Regions from separate parts of the Homo sapiens genome. Here regions 2, 3 and 4 are each linked to region 1. The links are contacts of gene promoters, found by promoter capture Hi-C in blood cells and fetal thymus (Javierre and others, 2016). All regions are on one chromosome and are shown on one strand. The core of a region is centred on a gene start or on the middle of the fragment in contact, and the rest is flanking DNA. Distances in the headings are between cores, read along the strand shown. Region 1 holds the start of EPB41L4A-AS1 (EPB41L4A antisense RNA 1). Region 2 overlaps WDR36 (WD repeat domain 36). Region 3 holds the start of TMEM232 (transmembrane protein 232). Region 4 has its middle 52 kb from the start of WDR36.

What was found. Contacts are between HindIII fragments. The CHiCAGO score rates a contact against its expected background, and 5 or more counts as called.
Region 2: a contact is called between a fragment that was not itself captured here and the fragment with the promoter of EPB41L4A-AS1 in region 1, in 1 of 17 cell types (M0 macrophages). The highest score is 7.7, in M0 macrophages.
Region 3: a contact is called between a fragment that was not itself captured here and the fragment with the promoter of EPB41L4A-AS1 in region 1, in 3 of 17 cell types (naive CD4 T cells, fetal thymus and total CD4 T cells). The highest score is 8.4, in naive CD4 T cells.
Region 4: a contact is called between a fragment that was not itself captured here and the fragment with the promoter of EPB41L4A-AS1 in region 1, in 8 of 17 cell types (M0 macrophages, M2 macrophages, M1 macrophages and 5 more). The highest score is 9.5, in M0 macrophages.

What each region holds. Positions count from the first base shown.
Region 1 is chr5:112,159,276-112,161,775 of GRCh38, forward strand. EPB41L4A-AS1 (EPB41L4A antisense RNA 1) reads left to right here and starts at 1,251. Exons shown (of 3, transcript NR_015370.2): 1 at 1,251-2,020; 2 at 2,428-2,500. It overlaps SNORA13 (small nucleolar RNA, H/ACA box 13), which reads left to right and starts at 2,210; the gene lies at 2,210-2,342. It also overlaps a transcript of EPB41L4A not described here. RefSeq lists enhancers at 1,118-2,317, 1,136-1,345, 1,218-1,950, 1,726-1,825, 1,846-1,895 and 1 more. The HindIII fragment of the contact is 7,805 bases long and covers 1-2,500 here.
Region 2 is chr5:111,116,430-111,119,429 of GRCh38, forward strand. It overlaps WDR36 (WD repeat domain 36), which reads left to right. Exons shown (of 23, transcript NM_139281.3): 17 at 2,584-2,691. Among named protein-coding and RNA genes, the nearest start is that of WDR36, 26 kb to the left of the region's middle. The HindIII fragment of the contact is 1,678 bases long and covers 436-2,113 here.
Region 3 is chr5:110,725,608-110,728,752 of GRCh38, forward strand. It overlaps TMEM232 (transmembrane protein 232), which reads right to left and starts at 1,064. Exons shown (of 14, transcript NM_001039763.4): 1 at 1,020-1,064. The HindIII fragment of the contact is 2,095 bases long and covers 768-2,862 here.
Region 4 is chr5:111,142,756-111,145,992 of GRCh38, forward strand. No RefSeq gene overlaps it. Among named protein-coding and RNA genes, the nearest start is that of WDR36, 52 kb to the left of the region's middle. The HindIII fragment of the contact is 3,112 bases long and covers 134-3,237 here.

The DNA.
Region 1 (2,500 bases), core at 1-2,500:
TTCTTTCTTTTATAGAAGTAGGCTTCAAAGAAACAACGAAAGGTGCTAAAACTGGTCTCTGGATGAATCTCTGCTAGGACTTAGAGAAACATGGAGACCTAGTTGTTATCATACAACTTGTCTTGCTGCCACTTGTCCTGTCCCTTCAAGGAGTTATGGTTATCAGGAAAAAAGCCAATTAACAAACTCTGCTTAATTTTTGTGGTGATAATTAATCAACTCTAAGATTTCAGCATAAAATCCCAACACCTTGCCCTGTGTGACAAGACCCTAAGTGCCTTGCTCCTGCCTGGCTCTCCAGCTGCATCTTGTCACTCTACACTCCTTACTCGACTCCAGCCACACTGGCCAAGGCCTGCTGTCTCCAGATCTTGCATAACCGCCTTCACACATCTGCTCGGAGTTCACTTCCAGTCTTCCTATTCCTAGCCCCATGAGCTACTGAACACTTGAAATGTGTCTAGTCTGAACGGAAATGTGCTGGAAGTATAAAATATACACCGGATTTTTATGACTTAGTAGATATAAAAGAAATATCTTATTAATAATCTCATATTGATTGCCTGTTGAAATATTTAAAATATGTTGGGTTATTATTAAAATTAATTTGATCTGTTTCTTTTTACTTTTTTTTTTTTTTTTTTGAGACGGAGTTTCGCCCTTTTGTCCAGGCTGGAGTCAAGTGGCATGATCTCGGCTCACCGCAACCTCCACCCCCACCCCGCCCGGGTTCAAGCCATTTCTCCTGCCTCAGCCTCCCAAGTAGCTGGGATTATAGACGCCCGCCACCAAGCCCAAGTAATTTTTGTATTTTTAGTAGAGACGGGGTTTTGCCATGTTGGCCAGGCTGGTCTTGAACTCCTGACTTCAGGTGATCACCTGCCTCAGCCTGCCAAAGTGCTGGGATTACAGGCATGAGCCACCGCGCCCGGCGTTCTTTTCACATTTTATGTGGCAATTGGAAAATTTAAAATTACACTCATGGCTCACACTGTTTCCATCGGACAGCGCTACCCTATGGCATGACCCTCTTTTGCTGCCCTCCTGGCACTTACATTGTAGAATTTCAGCATCCGGGCTCACTTGGTCAGTGGCCTACTCACCCAAGCAGAATGTACCACAGAAACCTTGCCTGGCTCACCCACACCTGATTCCCAGGCACTCAGGCCAGGGCCTGGAGCATAGTAAGTGCTGACTAAATATCTTTCGAATGAATGACTCTACTCTTCCTCAGCTGGACTCATGAATTCTGTCGGGTCCCAAAATACGTGGTCTAAAGTCCTTTGGGCTCCTGCCGCTGCCAGCACTGATCATATGCTCTTGACCCTGGTCGGGTGGGGGGATGTCTGGATACCTCCTCTGTGGAAAGAACTGGCCACACATCCGCAGAGGTGACTCGGGCTGAGAACCCAGGCTCCTCCTCCCTTTGGTGACACGCCCCTCGGTCCCTCACTGGCACTTCTCCCTCCGGCCACACGGCGGCGTCTCGCCATAGCGCAGCGGCCGATGGTACAGCCCGCTCCCCCCTCGCGCTCTCGGACAGTGGGTCCTTCCACTTGTAGAAAAGCATTGTGGGACGGAAGCCTGTCCTTTCTTCCTTTTGGTGCGAGCTTGCTGTGGTTTTTGCTCTGGGTCCTCTGGGATGGCGCCTGGCTGTGGCCGCGTGGTCTCTCACGCAGGGGCGCCGGGCGGGGGAACGCGGCCACCCTGAGTCTGGTGAGTCGACTGCGGCGGCCTGTGTCCGAAGTGTCCGGGGCCGTGAACAAGGGCAGCGGCCTGGCCTCAGGCCTGCGTTCCCACGTTTGGAAACGGGGAGCTTCGTCGATTTGTGTTTACATCATCGACTATGCCAGGGAGTTCTCCAGATAAGCCTGGTTTTATTTTCGTCAGTGAAAAGGCCTTACCGTATAACTGACTTTATGCTTGCCCTGCCCCCGTATAAAATAACTTAAAAGCAGCGTGCCTGGTTACAGCTGTTTCCACGTGCGGTGCTCGTCGGGAGTGATCACCTACCCTACAGGTGAGTTTTCACGTTCGTGCAAGACCAGTCGCCATTTAAAACGCATCGCATTTCACTTTTCATTATTAAGTCGGATTTTAAATCGTGAGAAAATTTCTCTGAAATGTATTGTCCGTTTTTAGGCTGTAATCGGCATTACTGTCAGCCAGTCAGCAACCTTATGCCATAAAGCCTACCTCACGCAGTGTCAGCCTTTGTGTTGCCCATTCACTTTGGAAACTAGTGAATGTGGTGTCAAAAAAGGCGTAAATTAAACGCTTTGCAGCCTTTTCCTGCCCTTAAATTTGATACCTTTGGTGTAGGAGCTGCATAAGTAACAGTTGCTGCTTTTACGTTTCCACGCGTGATCTTGACCCTGCTAGCCTTAAGTGTATGGTTTCTCTTAGCCAGTTCTAATTTTTGTTCAGGTGGAAGATGGATGCCTGAAGTGTAGACTGCTGCTAGCTGAATACCATCTGGGAGCATAAAGGTGACCTGAAG
Region 2 (3,000 bases), core at 25-2,524, 1.0 Mb before region 1:
CTGTGGAAGGTGATTTTAGCACTTTGGAAATAGAACATATGGAAGCAGTCTCCATTTGCTCAGAATAATAATCAGAAACAACCTTCTGAATTGTTATGCAGGGCTCTGATCTTGTAAATCTGATCTCTTAGAATAGGAATTGTTTTAATATTATTTCAGAAAAAATTGTAAGGTACCTTGGGACTTACTTTTTTAAGATTACCATGAAACTGTATGGTAGTTTTAGGTCTGGGATGAGCCTGTGCATTTATGTTTCATGAACTAATGTGGCAGTGTAGAATATGCTGTGTATGTGGAAACCACCTTCCTCAATTTGGTGGTTTTATATAATGGAAGTCCCATCTACCCACACACCACAGCTGTGGAAATGAAGTTACACAATGAAGTTGACAAGATAATTATAGTTTGAAGTAAAATAAGTTTGCTCAAGCAGTAAGCTTTTTAACAGATAGTACCTAAACATGTTAGGAAGTTTTACCCTTCACGTATGTAAACTTTTGATGAGTAATATTAAGACAAAGGAAATACCTTAAGATTTGAAATTGCCGTGTTTTAGGTTTAATCTTTATATGTGTTAGGATAATATCTTCATCTCTGGATTGTTTGGATTAAATGACTTAACATAAATAATTTAATAGTGTATGGCATAGAATAAGTATTTAGCAAATGTTTTCTTTTCCCCAATTCTCTTGATTCCCAATAAAAGCCATTCTTGTGGGCTTTCAAAACAGACTTGAACAGAAATCAGACAGGTTATTGCTCCCTTCCCCATAATGGACAATTAAACAGCAGTCCTTTTCCTGAACACACTTTGATGTGTGTGTGTTTGTTTCCAGTGCTTCTAATTGTTGTCTTTTCTTTCCATCTTGCATTCATTGTTTAAGGTTTACATTTTTATTGGCTCTTTTAGCAAATTGAGAGAGGCGTTTTACCATGGGCAAGCAACTTAATGCCTCCCACTGGACAGTCTTCATTTACATTTGAGCTGCTCACAGTGTGTGTCCCATGAATCACTGATGTAGGCATACCCTCAGTGTGTGTAAGCTGTTGCCCTGTTTTTGTGTTTTAGTTTCAGTAGTGGCTTTACTAGAATTTATATTGGCTAACAATATAAATTGGGTAGAACTGCTTGGGTAAAAATCCTGACCCAGTTGCTTTCTACCTTGAGCGAGTTTTCAAATCTTACTGGGCCTCAGTTTTCTGGACTGATCCGCCTTAATAGGGTTTGTGAAGATTCGATTAGTTAGCACGCTCAAGTGCTGAGGATACTTCCTCACACAGAACACTAAAAAAGTGTTAATCTTGTTCTTGAAATAATTTGTATTAATGTACATCCGGAACTTGAGTCATTTGTGTGTACCTTCCTATGGATAATATATTGGCTTCAGAAAAGCTGTAATTAAAAACCAGTATACTCTGCTTAAAGCTATTCTCGCTTTTAGCCAGCCTAAGGGGTCTTTCAGCAGGATTCAGATGAGTGTAGGCCTTTCTCTTTGCTTCTTAAATCTACCTCTTTTCACTTCCTGCTACCACCATCCTAGTTATCTTTGTTGATTGTTAGATGATTACTACCATACTGTCACCATTCTCTCTGTTCAAATATATTCTGCATTCTGATGGCAAGTTTTTATGGAAGTGAAGATTATGCCACTATCTCCTCTTAAGTGGTTAATGACTTTCCATCGATTATAAGATTAACACAAACTCAGGTGTTTGATATGTAAGACATTGTATGCAGCCTTATGCTTATGCTTAATGGTCCTACAAAACTGCACTCCTCACTCTACACAATTGTATTTTCCCTTGCCTTATCCACCACATTTCTCTTAGCCAGGAAATGCTTTCTCTACTAGACACCAATATCCATTGAAATCCTGTCCATTTGTAAAGCTCCTCTCAAACATAAGTGTTCTCTGTGAAGCCCATTCTGAGTCTTCTACCTGGTTTGTGGTTACTCTCCCTTTCACCCCAACTTGTAAATCCCTTCAGCAGTTTAAAGCTATGGGACTAGTTTCCATAAATTGCTTTATGGTTCTTCTCTAGAGACTGAATTTTCATGGTGTTTCATGTATAGCATGATTACTTATTTGAAAAATAGGTACAGTTGCTCAAAAGCTTTTTTTAAATTACTATTCTTATTTACATCCATTTTGTTATATTACTTTCTCCTTTTGCCTAAGCTTTTCATTAGTTTCACTGAAGTAACAGAAATACAGAATACTGATAATTAGATTTATTTTAAATGTTATATCTTTAGAATTGTCTCCAAGTCAGTCTACCAAAATTTAGTATTCGAGAAAAACAGAAAATTTCCTCCTGTTTCCTCCCTGTTGTTGAAACTGCTTCTCCAGTTAGTCAGTCTAGTTAATGTTGTCTTTCTCATTAAGTGAGATTATTTTCACATAGTAACTTAGTTAACAAAGCTGTTTATTAGTGGTGACTTTCTGATCAATGCTGGTGATTAAAAAAAAGAAAACATTTTCTGCATCTCTTATCCCTTATCTTTTTGGCAAAAATATTTTTGTGAATTATCTCCTTTTTGGTAGAGTTCAAATACTTTTAACATGTTAATTATTTCTGTAGCCTTATAGACTGCTTTTTGTTGGACTCGGCTCCTCTCAATGTTTCTATGTCTCCTACTGGAGACTTTCTGGCAACTTCCCATGTGGACCACCTTGGAATTTATCTATGGTAAGTTCTTTCATACAGTTCTGTTTTGGGATGAAGAAGATTGTATTGTCAGAGAGTTAGAGTTGCTAAAATTGTCATTTAGGCTGTTTTTAAGTGTATTAAATGGAAATGTCACAAGTTAACACAGATACTTAATTCACTGTAAGTCTGAGTGATTCAACATCTGCTTGATAATGTAGACAGCTTTGCTGAAGTATATTCTAAACCACATGATTGATTTTTGTCTGTTACATTTGGCTTTTATTTGCAGAAAGAATGAGTGATTTTTAAAAGTTTAGGAAAAGGGAGTCCCCAGCCAGGCCATGGTTT
Region 3 (3,145 bases), core at 565-3,064, 1.4 Mb before region 1:
ATGTGGATTACCCAAACCAAGAATGTTTATACTTTAAAGAGAAATGTTTCAGCTCATGAAATGGCTCCAGCAGTCTGCCTGGGTGCTTGGCAGTTCATCTGCAACCTGGCACAGACCCAGATTTCTTTTTTTAGTTTTACTATTAATTCTTCATGTATTTTTTTAAAGTTCCAATAAAAATGAGGTTGAAACTGTATACTTTAAAAGACAATTTCTGAAAAACAGATAATATTAAAATTATATCAAGACTTTGGAAAGGTAACATGCATTAGAGAATATAAGATTTAGACTCTAACCTGAGGAAGCAAATTATTTGACCAACCAAATGATAGAATTTGTTCAGACATACTGTTAAGATGGTAAGGTAAATAAGAGACTCTTACTACAGTCTTATCCCCTCCTAGAAATTTTTCTAATAGACAACTTGGATATTTTTCTCAAGATTAACGGCTTTTAAAAATTGTTTTATTACACATCTCCAATATACCCCCCTCTCTCTTTCACACACACACACACACACACACACACACACAGAGCGCCAAATTTTTGAACCTTCTCTTTTGAAGTCCAAGAGTCTTCATACTAAATAAATAATAAATAAATAAAAATCAAAAAGGTGCAATTTCACCAACCACAGAGGATGTGTGAAGACTGGTCTTCTGAATTCAAGGTTGCCCCAGGATAAGCGAGTCCAGGGGAGATTAAATGAATTTCCCTATTCATAGCAATAAGAAAGTTCCCACCTCCTTTATTCTCCCCAACAAAAAAGCTTCCCCTATCAAACGACCTGGTGGCTTTTCCAGGATGGACTGCTTAGACTCTTAGGAGGGGCCCAGATAGCAGGCCCAGCCTGGGGTTGCGAGTAGTGTTTCTTCTAACAAAGCTATGGCACCCTGAGAAAGGAGGCTCAGTATTCCCCTGTGAGGATCTTTGTGGGTCTTTCAGTTGCCCTAGGATGGTGAATATGACAATAACCTGAGCTCCCAAATCATCTGAAGCAGGACCTCTTAATCACTCACCGCTGCGCTCTGAGCCGCTGGGAACCAAGGCTGGTTGCTAAGGACGCTGTGGGAGTCGCTCTGAGACAGACGTTGCTCTTTTACGGTCTCGTGACCAGGGCTTAGCCAATCAGGACTTATAAGTGAATTTCCACCTGCCCTGTCCCGTCTCCACCACATTTGTGTTCAATTTCTAAAGAATAAATGCAATGTTGTGTGAAAGACCTTTATTCGTTTTTAAAGAACATAGTAATGATTTGTTTCGAATATTGTACATACTTGCATATCCTGCAAGAAGCCACGGCAAGAAGCGGCTTCACAGTGCTTTAATGTCTCCTCAGTGTCTTAATGCTGCTTCCCCAAAACAAACCAGCACGCCTATCATACCAAAAGTAGCTATGTCTTTAAATTAAATTGCCGTTCGTAAGTTCCTTTTACATAGAAAATTTGGAGCAGTCAGTGTCCTCAGCACCCGTCAGTGAGTAAACAAAGCACCTAGAATGTTCTGCTATGTACTAAACACCAGAGGGCGAATTTAAACACAAAAGAACGCCTCTTTTTAAAGGTAGTATGCAATAGAATTATCTAATATAAGTCCTTTAAAAATCCTTGTAGAATTCCTATGTCTACTAACGAGCAACTGTATATATTTTACAAAGGTTCACCAGTGTAAAATACTATATGGAAGAATGGGGAAGGGCATTTATGATTAAATTCATACGTAGGCCGGGCGCAGTGGCTCATGCCTGTTATCCCAGCACTTTGGGAGGCCAAGGTGGGCGGATCACGAGGTCAGGAGTTCGAGACCATCCTGGCTAACATGGTGAAACCCGTCTCTACTAAAAATACAAAAGTTAGCCAGGCGTGGTGGCACCCACCTATAATCCCAGCTACTCAGGAGGCTGAGGCAGGAGAATTGCTTGAACCCAGGAGATGGAGGTTGCAGTGAGCCGAGATCATGCCACTGCACCCCAGCCTGGGAAACAGAGCGAGATTCCATCTAAAGAAAAAAAAAATACTAAAACGTAATATACAGGGATTGTCCTGTGAAATGACCTGCCTTTAAAAATTAGAACTTTGAAAGAAAATTTAACTTGAACTACTTCGATTCGGAATTAAGTTTTTTTGTTTTTTGAGTGCATTTTTATGTTTAAAACAGAAATTACAATATGTGATCTCAGGCTTCTCTGACGTATCACTCCTAGAAGATCAGTAAGTTAAAGGTAATAATGAAAAGTGAAATTGACAAAGACTATAAACTACATATGTGAGAGAACAAATCCTAGAATATCAACAGTGCTTACCATAATCCAGATAAAATAAAAATGAAAAGACTGTGGTATTTAATAATAGCCTGGGGGCTTGCTTGTTTTAATTTCAAGAGATCTAGAAAAGTGTTAAAAGCATAAAAAAATACAAACTGTTAACCAGGTTATTCATAATCAAATGAAGATTGAATTAAAAAGGAATAAAAGGAAGGCCGAATAAAAAATTCTTCTCCATAATATAAGAATCAGTTGAAACTATAGCATGTTTAGAGAAAAAAAGTCACCCCATCGATTCTACAGTGAAGACAACAGAACAAGTTTATATAAGGAAGAATTCACAAATACATATATATATATATTACACATATCTACTTATTCTAAATATATCTACTGATTTTATATATGTATCTACTGATTTTATTTATATATATATCAGTAGAATGAAAGATTACAGAAAAAGCATAAAATTTATATATGATAAATTTGCCATTTTAACTCAGTGGGGAAAAACTGTACAGAGGCTGAGCACAATTTGAAAGAAAATAAATCTGAACTACTATCTCATACCATAGCAACAATAAATCTCAGAGGAATGAAGCTTAAAACAGGAAATAATTTTAAATAATTTTAAGATAATATTGGTATAACCTTAGAGTCACAATAATATTAAGCTAATAGGAGACCCACAATGATTTTAAAAAATGACAAGAATATTTAGAAAATTTATGTAAGAAAAATAAATCTAATAAAGTCATACCTCCCCTTTCTCCCTTTAATTAGTCATCTACATTGAAGTTTTGACAAGACAAATCTAATTTTTTCAAATTATTATATATATACCTATATATATATAATCCTAAAATGGCCATTAATTAGCAA
Region 4 (3,237 bases), core at 440-2,939, 1.0 Mb before region 1:
GGAGGCGGAGGTTGCAGTGAGCCGAGATCGCGCCACTGCACTCCAGCCTGGGGACAGAGCGAGACTCTGTCTAAAAAAAAAAAGAAAAGAAAAGAAGGTGACAGTTGTGAGAGTGACCCTACTCTTTTCTATAAGCTTACTAAACAGCAGCCCGAATTCCAGGCCTCTCCCGACTTAAGGGCTGGCACCGGGTGGTCTCAACTGCTCTCGACCCCTGGTCTCAACTCTACTGATTGTCACTTATGAGTAAAGTCCCTAATAAAATAATTGTTAAAACAATGGAAAGTTAAGTTAGATTCTGGGATGCTTTGATGCTGTGGCGACCTTGAGGTTGGAGGGCCCTCTATTGATCCCATACTCATTCAGCAAGAAGAATTAAGGCCAATCTCAGGCCTAGTCTAGGATGTCTGAGGAAAGTATTGATGAGTCAGTCTTTTCATCACCTCATCTGTCGGGATGAATAGCCTGTAAAGATTGTTATTTATGGACAAATTGTATATATGTATATATTTCTAATGGACTTTATTTTTAGAGCAGTTTTAGATTCACAGCAAAATTGAGAGGAAGGTACAGAGATTTCTCATACACCCCCTCCCCTCAAACAAGCACAACCTCCCCCGTTATCAATACCCCCACCAAGGTGGTAAATTTGTTATAGCTGATGAACCTACACTGACACATCATTATCATCCAAAAATCACGCTTTAAGGATTTTTATCTTTATCCTCCGAGTAAAGATATTGAAAAGTGTTCATCAAGAGGGTGCTATCATTAGGTCCGCATTTTAAAGAGTTCAATGATTGCAGAATGAAGAACAGATTAAAGACTAGTGAAATGAGAATAAAAGTAGGGAGACCAATGAGGAATTTGGGGAAGATGATGGTGTCTTGGATCAGGTGGTAGAACAGAGACAGAGAAAACTGGATGTATTCAAGGGCTATTTATGGATTCGACTGTAGCATTTCACAACATACTACTGATCATATAACAAGGGGCTTGCAGTTTTAGTTATAACAATTAAAAAATAAAGTATAATATAATAACATACATGTTTTTTAAGCCATCAAAATGTTGTGGATAGGAAGAAGTCCAAAGGAACCCTATTCCAGGGAGACAAGTGCTTCCTAGAGAATGAAAATCAGTAGGCATTACCTTCGCTAGGGGCAACTACTGAGTCAGGCGTGGGCTGGTGAGGATTGGGCCTGATTCAAGCAGGGAGACTCTTCCTGCATAAGGTGCAGTCAGTGGAGTTTTAAATGTCTGTGTGTGGGTTAGTGAGACCAACTGGAATCTGGAGGAGTTTCAAGGCCAAGTTCTCCCGCCCACCGATTCTCCCTCGGGAGACTTGTGTGAGAGGATGTGGTAGCCCAGTAATCTGAAGGCTGGATAGTAAGTCCCTCCCAGATAGAGGGAGTTCTTGGCAACTCATTGTGCTGAGATCCCAAAGGCTTGCCAAAGGGAGGGACTTGTAATACATACAGGACTGATCTTGCACTGAAGACATTTGAAACCAGAGATAAATTGAAACTATTAGAAGTTGAAGAAAATATGAACAAACTGGATGAAAAGATGGAGAATTTTAACAGAGCTATTATAATTTCCTGACAATTACTAAAATAATATTCTAGAACTGAAAAATAAAATATAGATATTTTATTAAATATCTAAGTTAGTAAATTCATTGACCAACCTCTTCCAAGTCCTCCCTTTCCCCTTTCCTCCCAGCCTCTGGTGGCCACTATTCTACTTTCTACTTCTGTGAAATCAAGTTTAGATTCCACATATGAGTCAGTTCATGCAGTTTCTCTTTCTCTCCCTGGCTTGTCTGAATTTATGCCCTCTCGGTTTATCTATGTTGCCACAAATGACAGGATTTCATTCTGTTTTATAGCTGAATAGTATTCCACTGTATGTATATATGCCACATTTTTTTTATCCACTAATGTGCAGATGAGCATTTAAGTTGATTTCCTAATCTTGGCTATTGTGAGTAATGCTGCAATAAACAGGCAGTGCAAATGTCTCTTCAACATACTGATTTCATTTCCTTTGGATATGTATCCAGTAATGGGATTGCTGGAGATGGTACTTCTATTTTTAATTTTTTGTGAAATCTTTATACTGTTTTCCATAATAACTGTACCAATTTATATTCTCACCAATGATGTATAAAAATCCCCTTTTCTCTGCATCTTCACCAGCATTAGTGACTGTACCAAATAACAATACAGTGCATATTACAAGATCGCTAGAAGATTTTTGAACATTGCCACCACAAAGAAATGATAAATATTTGAGGTGGTTAATATGATAATTACCCCAATTTAATCTTTATACTATGCATATATGCATTAAAATATCAGGTTGTACTACATAAACATACAGTTATTATGTGTCAATTATAAATTTAAAAATTAAAACATTCATTGGATGGATTTAACAGTAGACACAATATAGAAAATAGTTTGAACTAAATAGTAATAGAAATATGATATATCATTATGTGTGGGATGCAACTAAGAAGATATTTAGGAGGTAGAAATAGACTTGGTGATAGTTGAGAGGTGGATAATAAAGTCAACTCCTGGGTTTCTATTTGTAGTACTGGATGGATGATTGTGTGATTGTTATTCACCACGATAAGAAATTGTGTGTGTGTGTGTGTGTGTGTAAGAGAGAAAGAGAGAGGTGTGCACATGCAAATGCAAGGAGGTAATTGAGGATGAAGTGAGGGTAGTTGAGTTTGAAGTGACTTGGTGGTTTCTAAATAGATGTTCCCACTCCCCAGATTGCACTTTTCCTACTTCTGCACTAGACATCAAGACTTGAATTCTTTCTCTTATGGGGAACCTCTTCTGACCACTAACCTTACCCCAGGATGGGTTAAGTGTTCCTATTCGGTGTACTCAAAACATCCTACACATAAGTCTCATAGTAATTTTATATTTTTTATTAAGTTATGTTGTTATAAAACTATTTGTTTATTTATCTCTTACCTTAGAGGTCCTTGGAAAGCAGAAATGCTGTTTCTAGCACAGAGTAAGTGCTCAGTTATAGTTTGTTGAGTAGCACTGGACTGTGAAAATCAAATTGAGGTATTTCCAGACATACTTAGGGCACTCAAAATTTTCACATCTCCTGCTTCTAAGTAAATACTAAACTTGAGAGTTATAGAGTAGAGTTGTTTAGGTGAAAAAAAATACTGAGACAGTATCACAAGATCACAAAATTTTTGCT